Linked DNA regions of Homo sapiens: all the other regions are linked to region 3. The links are contacts of gene promoters, found by promoter capture Hi-C in blood cells and fetal thymus (Javierre and others, 2016). All regions are on one chromosome and are shown on one strand. Each heading gives the region's core, a stretch centred on a gene start or on the middle of the fragment in contact. The rest is flanking DNA. Distances are from core to core; before and after follow the strand shown.

Region 1 (4,416 bases), core at 1,619-4,118, 690 kb before region 3:
TTCTCCCTCCTCTGGGTTCAGTGACTGATAGCATCACTGGTACTTCCTGCGTGCCACGCATCACTGTCACCTCTTGTGAAGATAATGTCCTCCCAACTAGACCGCAAACTCCTACAGAGCCAGGTCACAGTGAAGACATCTTAATGTTCCTAGATGTGGCACACGCCTAGCACACAGCACTTAATTATTGAGATTATATTGGATTTTAGAAAAGTTTTTGTTTGTTTCTTGTTTTCAGAGGCACAGGCCATGTATCACCTCTTTCTCAGAAATCCCCTAATCGCTGACCCACATAGCACACAGGCATTGGTGCTCACCTTCCAGGGGAGCCCTCAGCCTTAGCTCCCCTATCCTAACTGGGCAACAGAAACAGCTCAAGGTCCAAGAAAGCATTAAAGAGACTTCAGGCAAGTGGCAAAATGACAGGAGTGAGAGAGCTGGGTGTGCTGTGGGGTCCAGGCCTCGCCTCTAACACAGAGCCCCGAGGGTGGCTGAGGCCTCTTGCAGTCTTCAGCACCACCGTGGAGGGAGAGCGCTGGGCTGCAGCACAGGCGTCGGTCTGGCTGGTTACCGGATCCTTCCACTGCAAGGATCCACAGTGTGAGGAAGCTTCCTTTGTGCTGTGACCCGCACTCACCTGAACACATCATTCCAATACTCCTTTACGTAGGACACTTGATGGAAAGGGATGTCTAAGATCTGGCAAACTCTGTAAGCATCTTCACAGTCTTTGTCGGCAGTACAGACCCCATGTTCATCCAGTGAGTCCCAGTTCTTCATAAACACCCCTGTCACCTGGTAACCTGCGGGCGGGAAGGTCAATTAAAGAGAATACATAAATCAACCTTCGGTAAAACGGCAGTGATTTCTGAGCTCTGAGAAGTTCCCCACACGCTGTGCTCCTGTGCCTCTGTGCCTGGCCTGCCGGGCAGTCCCTGCTTTGCCATGTGGCTTCAGGGATCCGGTTTCCATCTTGGTGCCTGAGTCCCCAAGATTAACGAGGTGGTATTTTCTCATCTTTGTGTCCCCATCTATGTATCAGCACAATACCTAGCAGGAGGGGATCAGCCAGTGTGTGTGGAATACACGAAGGAATAGTCGAAACTCAACAAAATTTTTCAAAGCACCATTCAGTTATCAAAAAAGGAAACTCTTTTCAAAAGTTATTTCTAGTTACTATCTAAGACTTAGATTCTAAGTGATCAGATATAAAGATAATTAAAATTTTCGATATTTTGTAAGAGCTGTACCACCTAGTTTATGACCTATTTTCTACCTTTTCGATTGTAACAAAATATTCACCCAAATATTGGAAAGGCCAACTTTAGCCCTACACCACCTTAGCAAACTACACAGGTGCAGACCCTGTATGAGAAAGCTGGTTCGTTTAGGTAGGCTGAATGTAATGAAAGACAGGGCAAATGACTGCTGAAGAAGGCTTCATATAGTACCCAAAACAACAGAAATTTGATGACAAAGCTTTGTCAAAACTACACCACCACACGCGAAAGACCACCCCTATCCCAGATCAACCAGACTAATGTCTACCTAACAGTCTAAAGCCCCTGGTATAGCATCTTCCATAATCAGGGCTAAACGTGCTCCAGGCTCCTCTCCTTCCATCTCCATCTGGCCAGAACCAGCCCACACTTGCAGGCCTCTGTGATTCTGCTTGCACTGCTGACTGTGCCGGGAGGGCCGCCTCCACCTCCAAGTCTCTGCTTAGTGACATCCTACTCTTCTTTCGACTCAGCTGAGCACCTCCATCTCTAGGATGCTTTCCTCCACTCTCCCTTCCTCACAACTATTTCTGCTTATGGTCCGCCTACCCTTCTCTTTGGCACTTACTGTACCTACCATAATAGCTATGGTTATTAACAATATAAACTAATAGCCACTACTGTTTTCTGCGTACCTCGTATGTGCTGAGCACGTACTCATCAGTATGTACTATGTCATCTAATCCCTCCAGTCACCCCGTGAGGCAGGTGTTAGCCGAATTTTACAGGGGACGGCTTAATTCACTTGCCCAAGGTCAGGAGCCAAAGATGGCGCAAAGCAGAGCTCCACAAACGTGACTCTGTGAATGAGGCCTCCCGCGGGGAGCCACACAGGTGAAGTTAAACAAGTGCTCATTTCAGCGCCGGGCCCGAGGAATGCTAAGCACCCGTGGGGCTCCGTTTAGATGCCGGAAGAAATGCAAATGCTCCTGGAGAAAACTTTGTCCTCCAGCGAGCGGAGAACACAGGAGACGCTGAACAAGCAGACCCGCCGCGCGGCAGTTGTCCAGTCTGCTGAGTGGGGAGGACAAGGACCTCCCACCGGGCGGCCACAGCGTGTGCAGAGGTCAGGCCCCCGGCCCGGCGATCCCAGCTCCCCTCACCAGTGTCCACGGTCTCACAGGTGAATGTGGACGCCGCAGATCCGTGAGAAACCCTTCCCTCCCCACCCCACCCCGGCCCGCCGGCTTCTCACTGTGGGTGGGCGCGCGTGGGTGGAGAGGGGCGCGGAACTGCTCCCAGGTAGTCGGAGCTGCAGTCGCGCACACCTCCGACTACACAGGTGGAGGGCGAGGAGCCTCCGAACCAAAGTCAGAGGACGGGGTATCCTCCTGCCGACCCGCGCGCAACCAGCGGCCCAGGGAGGGAGGAGACGTGCACAACGCCACGACGGACGGGGACAGGTTTCCGGGGACACATTCGCTCGGCGGGGGGCGGGAGCCTCGGACGCCTCACCTCTCCGCCTCAGCAGCAGCGCGGCCACGGCGCTGTCCACGCCGCCGGACAGGGCGCACACGACGTGCCGCAAGGCCTGCATCCGCCAGTCGCCCAACTTCGCCAGCTGCAGCTACCGCCGCTTCCGCGCCTTGCCGGAAGTCCCGCCCCGGCCGTAGGGTCCGCGCTAGTGGCCCGGCCGGAAGCTGCGGCAGCTTACCCGCGTTCCGTCCGGCCTTCCCCTGTCCCGCGGCGGGTTCCCCTGTCTCCGGCCTGCGCTCACCCCTGAGGCTCCACCGACCCGCGGGGCGCCGAGACTCTGTCGGGCCGCGAGGGGCTGGCTTTTTTTTTGAGCCGCCGCCTTGCCCTCCCCACCCGCGCCCCGGCCTCACTGCTCTTCTTCTGCGCTGTAAACCAAAAATAAAATTCTAAGCCCCCCAGCCAGCCATTGGAGGCCTCCTCTCGGCCAAGGGCGTCCTAGAGGGAACCTGAACCGCGAGTTCGGGCTCTGATGGGAAAGGCCGGGTGGGACCCGCCTCACTAGACCCTCCTCCTCCCTTTGGAATTCGGACCAGCATTAACGTCAAAACAGACTTAAGACTGTCTAGGCGGACTCTCCGTAGCAATAGGATACCGACATGACAGATGGCAGGCCCTGAAAGATATCGAAGTATTTTACAGTATTTTAATTTAATTTAATTTTTAATTAATTAAATTTTTTTGAGATGGAGTTTTGCTCTGTCGCAGGCTGGAGTGTAGTGGGCGCGACCTCGGCTCACTGCAACCTTCACCTCCAAGATTCAAGCGATTCTCCTGCCTCAGCCTCCCTAGTAGCTGCGATTACAGGCGCCCGCCACCAAGCCCAGCTAATTTTTGTATTTTTAGTAGAGACGGGGTTTCACCGTATTTGCCAGGCTGGTCTCTCACTCCTGACCTCAAGGGATCCGCCCACCTCAGCCTCCCAAAGTGGCGGGATTACAGGTGTGAGTCACTGCCCCCGGCCCAGAAAATCTTTGAATCCACCTATGACCTGGAAGCCCCACCCCACCTTCGAGTTGTCCCACCTTTCCGGAACCAATGTTACATCTTACATGTATTGATTTATGGCTTATGTCTCCCTAAAACGTACGAAACCAAAAGCTGTAGCACCACCAGTTTGAGCACGTGTTCTCAGGATCTCCTGGGACTATGACATGAATAAATATCTTCAAATCTTTTACAGTTTGACTCCAAGCATACTCAGCACTCAATCCTTAATGTCTGTGAGGTGTGTTGGACAGGGGTTTTGTGTTCTGTCCACTCCTACTCCATGCCCAGAAAAGCCCCTGGCCCAGGGCAGGTGCTTCATAACCTCGCTGAATAAAGGAAGGAGGAGAGAATGGAGGTCATCCCCCAGGGGTGATATTCAAGCTGAGTTCTTCTCTACGAGTTAGCATCTAGACAAGGTCTACCTAAAGCACAGGGAGACTCTGAACGAAAAAGATGTTCATTTGTGAATAGGGCATTGCAATGGGAATATGCATGCCACAATAAGCTATGTGGGTATTCAGGGAAGTAAAGGAAGACAAAGGTTTTTATTTTATTTATTTATTTTTTTGAGACAGTCTCACTTGGTCACTAGGCTGGAGTGCAGTGGCGTGATCTTAGCTCACTGCAACCTCCGCCTCCCGGGTTTAAGCGATTCTCCTGCCTCAGCCTCCGG
Region 2 (4,627 bases), core at 1,109-3,608, 620 kb before region 3:
TGGCTGAAAAAGGCCAATGTAGAGCTCGGGCTGTGGCTTCAGAGATTGCAAGCCCCAAGCCTTGGCAGCTTCCATGTGGTGTTGAGCCTGCAGTTGCACAGAAGTCAAGAATTGAGGTTTGGGAACCTCTGCCTAGATTTCAGAAGATATATGGCAACACCTGGATGCCAGGCAGAAGTTTACTGTAGGGGGAAGGCTCTCATGGAGAACCTGTGCTAGGGCAGTGTGGAAGGGAAATGTAGGGTTAGAGCCCCCACACAGAGTCCCTACTGGGGCACCGCCTAGTGGAGCTGTGAGAAGAGGGCCACCATCCTCCAGACCCTAGAATGGTAGATTCACCAACAGCTTGCACCATGAGTCTAGAAAAGCTGCAGACACTCAACACCAGCCCACGAAGGCAACCAGGAGGGAGGCTGTACCCTGCAAAGCCACAGGGGCGGAGCTGCCCAAGACCATAGGAACCCACCTCTTGCATCAGCATGAGCTGGATTTGAGACATGAAGTCAAAGGAGATAATTTTGGAGCTTTAGGATTTGACTGCCCCACTGGATTTCAGACTTGCATGGGCCCTATAACTCCTTTGTTTGGCCAATTTCTCCCATTTGGAATGGTTGTCTTTACCCAATGTCTGTACCCCACTGTATCTAGGAAATAACTAACTTGCTTTTGATTTTTTTTCTGTTTTTTGAGACAGAGTTTCGTTCCTGTTGCCCAGGCTGGAGTGCAATGACACGATCTTGGCTCACCGCAACCTCTGCTTCCCGGGTTCAAGCGATTCTCCTGCCTCAGCCTCCCGAGTAGCTGGGATTACAGGCATGCACCACCACACCCGGCTAATTTTGTATTTTTAGTAGAGATGGGGTTTCTCCATGTTGGTCAGGCTGGTCTCAAACTCCCAAGCTCAGGTGATCTGCCCGCTTCAGCCTCCCGAAGTGCTGGGATTACAGGGTGAGCCACTGCGCCCAGCCAGTTGCTTTTGATTTTACAGGCTCATAAGCATAAGCGACTTCCTTTGTCTCAGACAGGACTTTGGACTGTGGACTTTTGAGTTAATGTGAAATGAGTTAAGACTTTGGAGGACTGTTGGGAAGGCATGATTGGTTTTGAAATGTGAGGAGATGAGATTTGGCAGGGGTGGAATGATATAGTTTGGCTCTGTGTCCCCACCCAAATCTCATCTTATAGTCCCATAATTCCCACATGTTGTGGGAGGGACCGGGTGGGAGATAACTGAATCACAGGGGCAGTTTCCCCCATATTGTTCTGTGGTAGTGAATAAGTCTCAGGAGATCTGATGCTTTTATCAGGGGTTTCCGCTTTTGCGTCTTCCTCATTTTCTCTTGCCACTGCCATGCAAGAAGTGCTTTTTGCCTCCTGCCATGATTCTGAGGCCTCCCCAGCCATATGGAACTGTAAGTCCAATTAAACCTCTTTTTCTTCCCAGTCTTGGTTATGTCTTTATCAGCAGCATGAAAACGGACTAATACAGGGGAGGGCCAATTAAGACCACGAGTTTGAGACCAGCCTGTGAAACACAGCAAGACACCATCTCTACAAAAATAAAAAATAAATCAGTCAGGTGTAGTGGTGTAGACCTGTAGTATGGGAGGCTGAGGCAGGAGGATTCCTTGAGCCCAGGAGTTCAAGGTTACAGTCAGCTATGATTGCACCATTGCACTCCAGCCTGGGCAACAGAGCAAGACCCTGTCTCTAAAATCATTCAATCCATCAATCAAGTCCCAAAATATACAGCAAAAATGGACAGAGTTAAAGAATGAGGCCAGGCACAGTGGCTCATGCCTGTAATCCCAGCACTTTGGGAGGCCGAGGTGGGTGGATCACTTGAGGTCAAGCCATTGCACTCCAGCCTGGGTGACAGAGACTCCGTCTCAAAAAACAAACAAACAAACAAACAAACAAAAAACAAAACCCCCAAACCAACTAGAAAGAAAAGAGCAAAGCGACCCCAAAGTAAGAAACCGAGAGTCAGACCTTCCTGGGCGCCCAGGGATCTCACGGTTCCCTCCTGATCTCCCATTTTGTGACTGGCTTTCCCAAGGGTTCCTGCTGAAGCCCCTTCTCCGTGGTCAGCTCTGTGGTCTGCACGGGGCTGAACTGCCCTCCTGAGCCATCCTGACCCTGGGCCTGCACACACTTGGGGACGGAGAGGGAAGAGGTACCCAAGAAGTCCCCAGTGCCGACTGACCCCAAGCTCCGAGGTCCCAGCTGCTCTCTGGGACTCTGTCCCTGGGACCCCTCTGCCAGCGCCCTTCGACGCCCGAGACCCCCACTGTCCCCAAGACCCTCACTATCCCCGCGACCCCGGTGGCGGTTGGGCGCGCCTCGCGGCCTCTCCCAGCTTCTCCTGGGCCGGCGCCATGAGGCCTGGGCCCGCTCTCCTCCTTCTGGGCGTGGGCCTGAGCCTGAGCGTCGGCCGCCTCCCGCTGCCGCCGGTTCCTCGCGGGGCACAAGCCGCCGTCTCCGGGGCGCCCGGTGGCCTCCTCAGGGGCGCCCCGGGCCTCGGGGTGCGCGGCGGCCGCGCCCTCCTCAGTCTGCGGCCCAGCGCGGTGCGGGCGGGCGGCGCTGTCCTGAGCGGCCGCGGCAGCCTCTGCTTCCCCCATGGCGGGACCGGGCGGCGCTGGTACTGCCTCGACTTGCGCGTCCTGCTCAGCGCCCAACGCCTGCCCTGGCCGGCCGCGCCCGCGCTCGCGCTCGTCGACCTGCAGCTCTCCGCGCGCGGCGGCCGCCTCTCCCTGACGTGGTCCGTGCGGCTGCCGCGCTCGCCCGGGCGCCTGGCCTGGGCCTTCCGCCTGCGGCTGCTCGGACCCGGCGCCGCCCGCCCGGCCTCCCCCGCGGCCCGCGTCTCCCCGCGCTCCGCCGCGCCAGGCCCGCGGCCCCAGCAGGGCTTCGTGGCCCGCACCGAGTGCCCCACAGACGGCCCCGCGCGCGTGATGTTGCAGGCCGTCAACTCGTCCAGCCACAGAGCCGTCGAGTCGTCCGTGTCCTGTCAGATAAACGCCTGCGTCATCCAGCGCGTGAGGATCAACACGGACCAGAAGGGCGCCCCCGTGCGCCTGAGCATGCAGGCGGAGGCCACCATCAACGCCTCGGTGCAGCTGGACTGCCCGGCCGCGCGCGCCATCGCCCAGTACTGGCAGGTGTTCTCCGTGCCCGCCGTGGGTCAGGCGCCCGACTGGACGCAGCCCTTGGATCTGCCCCAGCTCGAGATCAGGAACAGCCCCTTGTTCATTCACATCCCCAATAATTCGTTACAGTGGGGAGTGTATGTGTTTAATTTCACGGTGTCCATCACCACAGGGAACCCCAAGATGCCCGAGGTGAAAGACTCGGACGCCGTCTATGTCTGGATCGTCAGGAGTTCCCTGCAGGCGGTGATGCTTGGCGATGCCAACATAACAGCTAATTTCACAGAGCAGCTGATTCTGGACGGGTCCACGTCCTCGGACCCAGATGCGGACAGCCCGTTACAGGGACTCCAGTTCTTTTGGTACTGTACCACAGATCCCAGAAACTACGGTGGGGATCGAATAATCCTGGGGAGCAAGGAAGTCTGTCACCCCGAGCAGGCCAATCTGAAATGGCCCTGGGCCTCGGGCCCTGTACTGACACTTTTGCCAGAAACACTTAAAGGCGACCACGTGTATTTCTTCAGAATGGTGATTCGGAAGGACTCTAGGACAGCGTTTTCTGATAAGAGGGTCCACGTGCTCCAAGGACCAAAAGCCATAGCACACATCACATGTATCGAAAATTGTGAGAGAAACTTCATTGTCTCTGATAGATTTTCTTTGTTCCTAAATTGCACAAATTGTGCAAGCCGTGATTTCTATAAATGGTCAATTTTGTCTTCTTCAGGTGGTGAGATGCTATTTGATTGGATGGGGGAAACTGTAACAGGAAGGAATGGTGCTTATCTGTCTATAAAAGCTTTTGCTTTTCGGCATTTTTTGGAAGCTGAGTTTTCGATTTCTCTGTATCTAGCATGTTGGAGTGGAGTGACCTCGGTCTTCAGGCATTCTTTTATTATTAACCATGGCCCTCAGATCGGAGAATGCAAAATTAATCCAGCTAAAGGAATTGCACTTATTACTAAATTTGTTGTCCAGTGTAGTAATTTTAGGGATAAGCACGTCCCTCTTACATATAAAATAATTGTTTCTGATTTGCACAGTGTTGGTGAAATCAGTTCAGTAAAAGAGAACACCCTGGGGACCATCCTGTACTTGGGGCCTCAGTCCACAGTACCCCCTTCCTTTCTCCCTGTTGGTATGTTGGCTAGTCAATATGGCTTGAAGATATATGCCCAGGTCTATGATTCTCTAGGAGCTTTTTCTCAGGTGACTTTGCATGCCACCGCACAGGCTCCCACTGACAAAAATTCATCAAAGACAGTGTTGAATCAGTTACTCAGTTTCACCGTGGGACCAAGTTCATTGCTGTCTACTTTGATTCAAAAGAAGGATTTTTTACCTGCAGGTTACTTACTGTATATAGTAGCTTCCGTTTTGAATAACATGAAAACTGAATTACCTCTCCGAGATGACAGAGTCAATCTCCGAAAACACCTCATCGATCAGTCTTTCCTTCTTCCTGTAAGCACTTTGGT
Region 3 (4,462 bases), core at 1,056-3,555:
CTAAACATACACACTTTGGGGACTGGGAGCTGAGCGGTTCTTCTAGAAAGGTCTCCTTGTTCCTTAGTCAAAATACAGGTTTGCCCCGTTTGTTCTTGCTCAGCCTTCTGAAACAATCAGAATAACTTTTTTCGTACGATGCCTACAAACAGCTTTAATGTTCCCTGTAAATATTCATTCCGAGCTAAGTGTGCCCAACTTCCTGCATTCTTTAGAGCAGTGGACAATTTCAACCGAGGACGATTTTGCCCTGCAGGGGACATTTGGCAATGTCTGGAGAACTTTTGGTGATCTACCCGGAGGAGGGAGACCACTCCTGGCGTCTGGTGGGGAGAGGCCCCCGTGCTGCTAAGCATCCTAAGGTACATGGCGTAGCACCTCCATCCCGCCACACGCACAACAAAGAATTGTCCCACCCAAAAGTCAACAGTGCTGAGGTTGAGAAGTCCTGCTTGAGAGTTCTGAGGTTTTTTTGGTTTTTTTGTTTGTTTTTGAGACGGAATCTCGCTCTATCACCCAGGCCGGAGTGCAGTGGTGCAATCTCAGCTCACTGCAACCTGTGCCTCCCAGGTTCAGGCAATTCTCCTGTCTCGGCCTCCCGAGCAGCTGGGATTACGGGCATGCGCCACCACCCCCGGCTAATTTTTGTATTTTTAGTAGAGTGGGGGTTTCACCATGTTGGCCAGGCTGGTCTCGAACTCCTGGGCTCAAGTGATCTGCCCACCTCGGCCTCCCAAAGCGCTGGGATTACAGGCTTGAGCCATCGCAACCGGCCTCTGCTTGAGAGTTCTGAGTCTTCTCAAGGTTCTGGTCCCTTCTGTAGATACTCTTCATGCATTCATGTTTCTATCGCCACGGGGTACCAACTCCAGGCCAGCTCCCACCAGCCTGGACATCGTAAGTTCTAGACACCAGGCGTCTCTCAGTGGAGCCTAACAATTACATCAGCCTTCTTAGCAATGCTTTGCTCATATGATCAGTATATCTTTTTTTTTTTTTTCCGAGATGGAGTCTCACTCTGTCACCCAGGCTAGAGTGCAGTGGCGGGATCTCAGCTCACTGCAACCTTTGCTTCCCAGGTTCAAGTGATTCTCCTGCCTCAGCCTCCCGAGTAGCTAGGATTACAGGCGCATCCCTCCATGCCTGGCTAATTTTTTGTATTTTTAGTAGAGACAAGGTTTCACCATGCTGGCCAGGCTGGTCTCAAACTCCTGACCTCGTGATCTGCCCCCTCCTCGGCCTCCCAAAGTGCTGGGATTACAGGCGTGAGCCACCGCGCCCGGCCGATCTGTATGTCTTTAATCAGTGTTACGGGCCAGGTGCGGTGGCTCATGCCTGGAATCCTAACATTTTAGGAGGCCAAGGTGGGCAGATTGCTTGAGCCCAGGAGTTCAAGAGCAGCTTGCACAACATGGTGAAACCCCATCTCTATGAAAAATTAGCTGGGCATGGTGATGTACACCTGTAGTCCCAGCTACTTGGGCGGCTAAGGTGGGAGGATCGCTTGAGCCTGGGAGGTCAAGGTCGCAGTGAGTCATGATAGCGCCACTGCACTCCAGCCTGGGCGACAGAGCGAGACCTGTCTCAAAAAAAAAAAAAAAAAAAAAAAAAAAAATCAGTGTTTTGAACAGAGAACTTAGAGGCTTAAATATGCATGTGATTAAATAAAAGACATATATTACCTAGAAAAAACAGGTATTATTCTCACACAGAAAAACGTTGGGTAAAATAAACATTCCTATTGGATGGATTCAATTTTAAATGATTCCTCTTATACAAATTTTGTTTCAACCATTCCTCTTAACAAAGAAATGGCGAAGCCCTCCTAAAGCCCTCCAGAACAGACTGAACAAAGGAAAAAAGATGCTTGTCAACTCAAATATGAAAGGCCTGCTCCAAGCTCCCCTAATTATATCTTGGAAGGGAAGCTTTGTCCTATTGACATTCGGGATCATTTTTCACAAGCTCAGGTTACTCCCTTGAAGATTTTTAGGAAGTTTCATGATATGGAGACATTGTTGAAAAATTGGCTGCTTGACTTCTGCCAGCAATCAGATACAGAGATCAAATCTGTTTCTGCCCACTTAGCTTAGAGCATTTCTGGTTATCTTGGGCAAAATGAGTTTGCAACTTTTAACTCAGACTTCTAAGAAGTCAGACGGTTTCACCCACTTTTTGTGTGTGTGGTTTTTTTTTTTACAAAGGATCTCTGAGGAAACTTGGCTGAAGGTGTGGGTTGATCTCTAATATCTGACATATTCTGCATTTGTAAATACCAGAGTACTTAAGAAGCAACAAAAATGGTTTTTATTTTATAAAGTGGAAGAAAAGATCCGAGGAAATACAACTCCTTTCATCAGACCCTTAGATCTTTCCTTTAAAACATAAAATTCTAAAGTAAATTGTGGGTTACTCTTGCCCTGTCCTGAATTCTAAGAGTTTGGCTGCTTAAAATATCATTAAAACATAATGAAATAAAGCTGACGTGGCCATGCTGCAGATTGATTGATGCATATCTGTTTATATGCTAATGAAAACTTTTGAGGAGCATATTTTTATATGGGGTCAAGATACTGAGCAGACCTCCTGTTTCTGGGCTGGGTCTTCATTCCTGGGAAAAGGAGTGTCTAGCAAATAGAAATATATTATAAATCACATTTTTAGCGAGAATGACAAAGCTTAGCAACCCTTGCCTTAGGGAACCTGTCCAATTTGTCAGTTAAAATTCAGCCTTCTGATATAAAACGAGCCCATTCATGTTGTGTGCGGGCTAATTCCTCGTGGAAAGAATCTGTTTGAGAGCTGTCAGCAGTGCAGAGAATGGGAGTAATACCAGGTAGAATGTGGGATCTCTGTGCAGGAGGCTTTGTGTCACTTCCTCAGTTTACCGCCTGTCCCTAAATCACTCACCCATGCAGGACCTTTCTCAGACCCTACATGGGCACGTGGGTGAGCCTCTGAAAATGCAGAGCTCCCTTCTAGGGGAGTTTTTGGTACTCAAGATTAGAACACAAGTCAGAATCTGTTCCCTTTATGAACAGATGGGAAGTATCTCATCTGAGTCTGTAAACCAAGGTAAAAGCGTTTCATTGAAAGGAGAGGGTGGCCAGGCGCGGTGGCTCATGCCTGTAATCCCAGCACTTTGGGAGACGGAGGCATGTGGATCACATGAGGCCAGGAGTTCGAGACCAGCCTGGCCAACAAGACGAAATCCCGTCTCTACTAAAAATACAAAAATTAGCTGGGTGTGGTGGTGCGCACCTGTGGTCCCAGCTCCTCAGGAGGCTGAGGCAAGAGAATCACTTGAACCTGGAGGCAGAGGTTGCAGTGAGCTGAGATCGCGCCAAAGGAAAGGGTCAAGGCAGATCCATTTCCCTCAACATTTGGGCACAGACAGGCCTTTCTGGTATAGGGGGAAGAGGCGGATTTTGATTTCGAGCCCCGTAATTTGTTGATTCTGAGAGTGTGCCCATAGACAGGTTCACTGAAGGCTGCGTGGACAGCAAATGCAACGGGCTTTATGTTGAATGGTGGCACACTTTGGGGAGCAGAGGATGCACTGTAGGCTCACACCCTACATCCGTGTGTTCCCTCTGTGTCCCAAGCCCAGGGGGATGCCCAGCCTCATCCTGCCCTGTCTTCCCAGGGCCAGCGGCAGTCAGCCCATGTGGCTGCTGCACGAACCCCGCACTGACGCTGGACCAAGGCCTTGAGTGCCGTGCACGGACCACCTGCTTCGGACCCCACACCTGCAGTGCTGGGGAAAATTACACCTTTTGGGGCCCCACGCCAGACCTCCCAGTCAGGATCTCTGGGGTCTGTGCCTGGGGACTGCACTGAACCTTCATCTCGGGTGATTTGAGAGCCCCATGAGAGTCCACCTGTGCCTTCCACACCTTTCCTCTGGGGGTGACCGTCCCACAGGGACCAGCCCCAGCCCTGCTCTCCGGGCCCCTACCACCACTGCCTCTTCAAACGCCGGCCCATGAACCCCACAGGCACCCCGTAAGGCCGGCAGCATCGTTTCCAGATGGGCCCAGAAGCTTGAGCCGTGGCAAAGCTCATGGGATTTGGGAGCTGGGATTCTGGGCTACTGTGCCTTGCACTCGCCCAAACCCAGCAGAGACTGTGGACTGGAGCAAGAGCGCTGTGAACCCAGCCTGGCTGCTCCCTGGAGAGGAGGGCGCGGGACTGGACTGAGCCCCACAAGCCTGAGGGAGGAGCACGGGCCTCAGGGGCTCCTGCTCTGGGCTACCACGGCTTCTTCCTGGCTGTGTTTCTTCTGGTCCATCGGGCAACCTCTCTGAATTCAACTGTCCAATCAACAAAACGTGGGTAAGGGAGCACCCCTTTGCCTCTTCCAGGGTGGAAGGGGAGGGCGGGGGTGACCCTCTCTCGGCTTCCTCCCCTGTCCACCTTCCCATTTTAGACCTGGGATGGGAGACGTGTAGACTGTGTTCCA

The links. Contacts are between HindIII fragments. The CHiCAGO score rates a contact against its expected background, and 5 or more counts as called.
Region 1: a contact is called between the fragment with the promoter of TRMU here and a fragment that was not itself captured in region 3, in 1 of 17 cell types (erythroblasts). The highest score is 5.0, in erythroblasts.
Region 2: the fragment with the promoter of PKDREJ here is called in contact with a fragment that was not itself captured in region 3 in 1 of 17 cell types (erythroblasts); the score reaches 5.5 in erythroblasts.

What each region holds. Positions count from the first base shown.
Region 1 is chr22:46,334,166-46,338,581 of GRCh38, reverse strand. It overlaps TRMU (tRNA mitochondrial 2-thiouridylase), which reads right to left and starts at 2,868. Exons shown (of 11, transcript NM_018006.5): 1 at 2,736-2,868; 2 at 638-803. The coding sequence starts at 2,817. RefSeq lists a silencer at 2,421-2,470 and enhancers at 2,279-2,778, 2,611-2,830. The HindIII fragment of the contact is 6,278 bases long and covers 1,482-4,416 here.
Region 2 is chr22:46,261,074-46,265,700 of GRCh38, reverse strand. PKDREJ (polycystin family receptor for egg jelly) reads left to right here and starts at 2,358. Exons shown (of 1, transcript NM_006071.2): 1 at 2,358-4,627. The coding sequence starts at 2,379. The HindIII fragment of the contact is 7,014 bases long and covers 1-3,950 here.
Region 3 is chr22:45,640,798-45,645,259 of GRCh38, reverse strand. All of the region lies in intron 1 of LOC105373069 (a long non-coding RNA gene), which reads right to left. Among named protein-coding and RNA genes, the nearest start is that of ATXN10, 29 kb to the left of the region's middle. The HindIII fragment of the contact is 750 bases long and covers 1,931-2,680 here.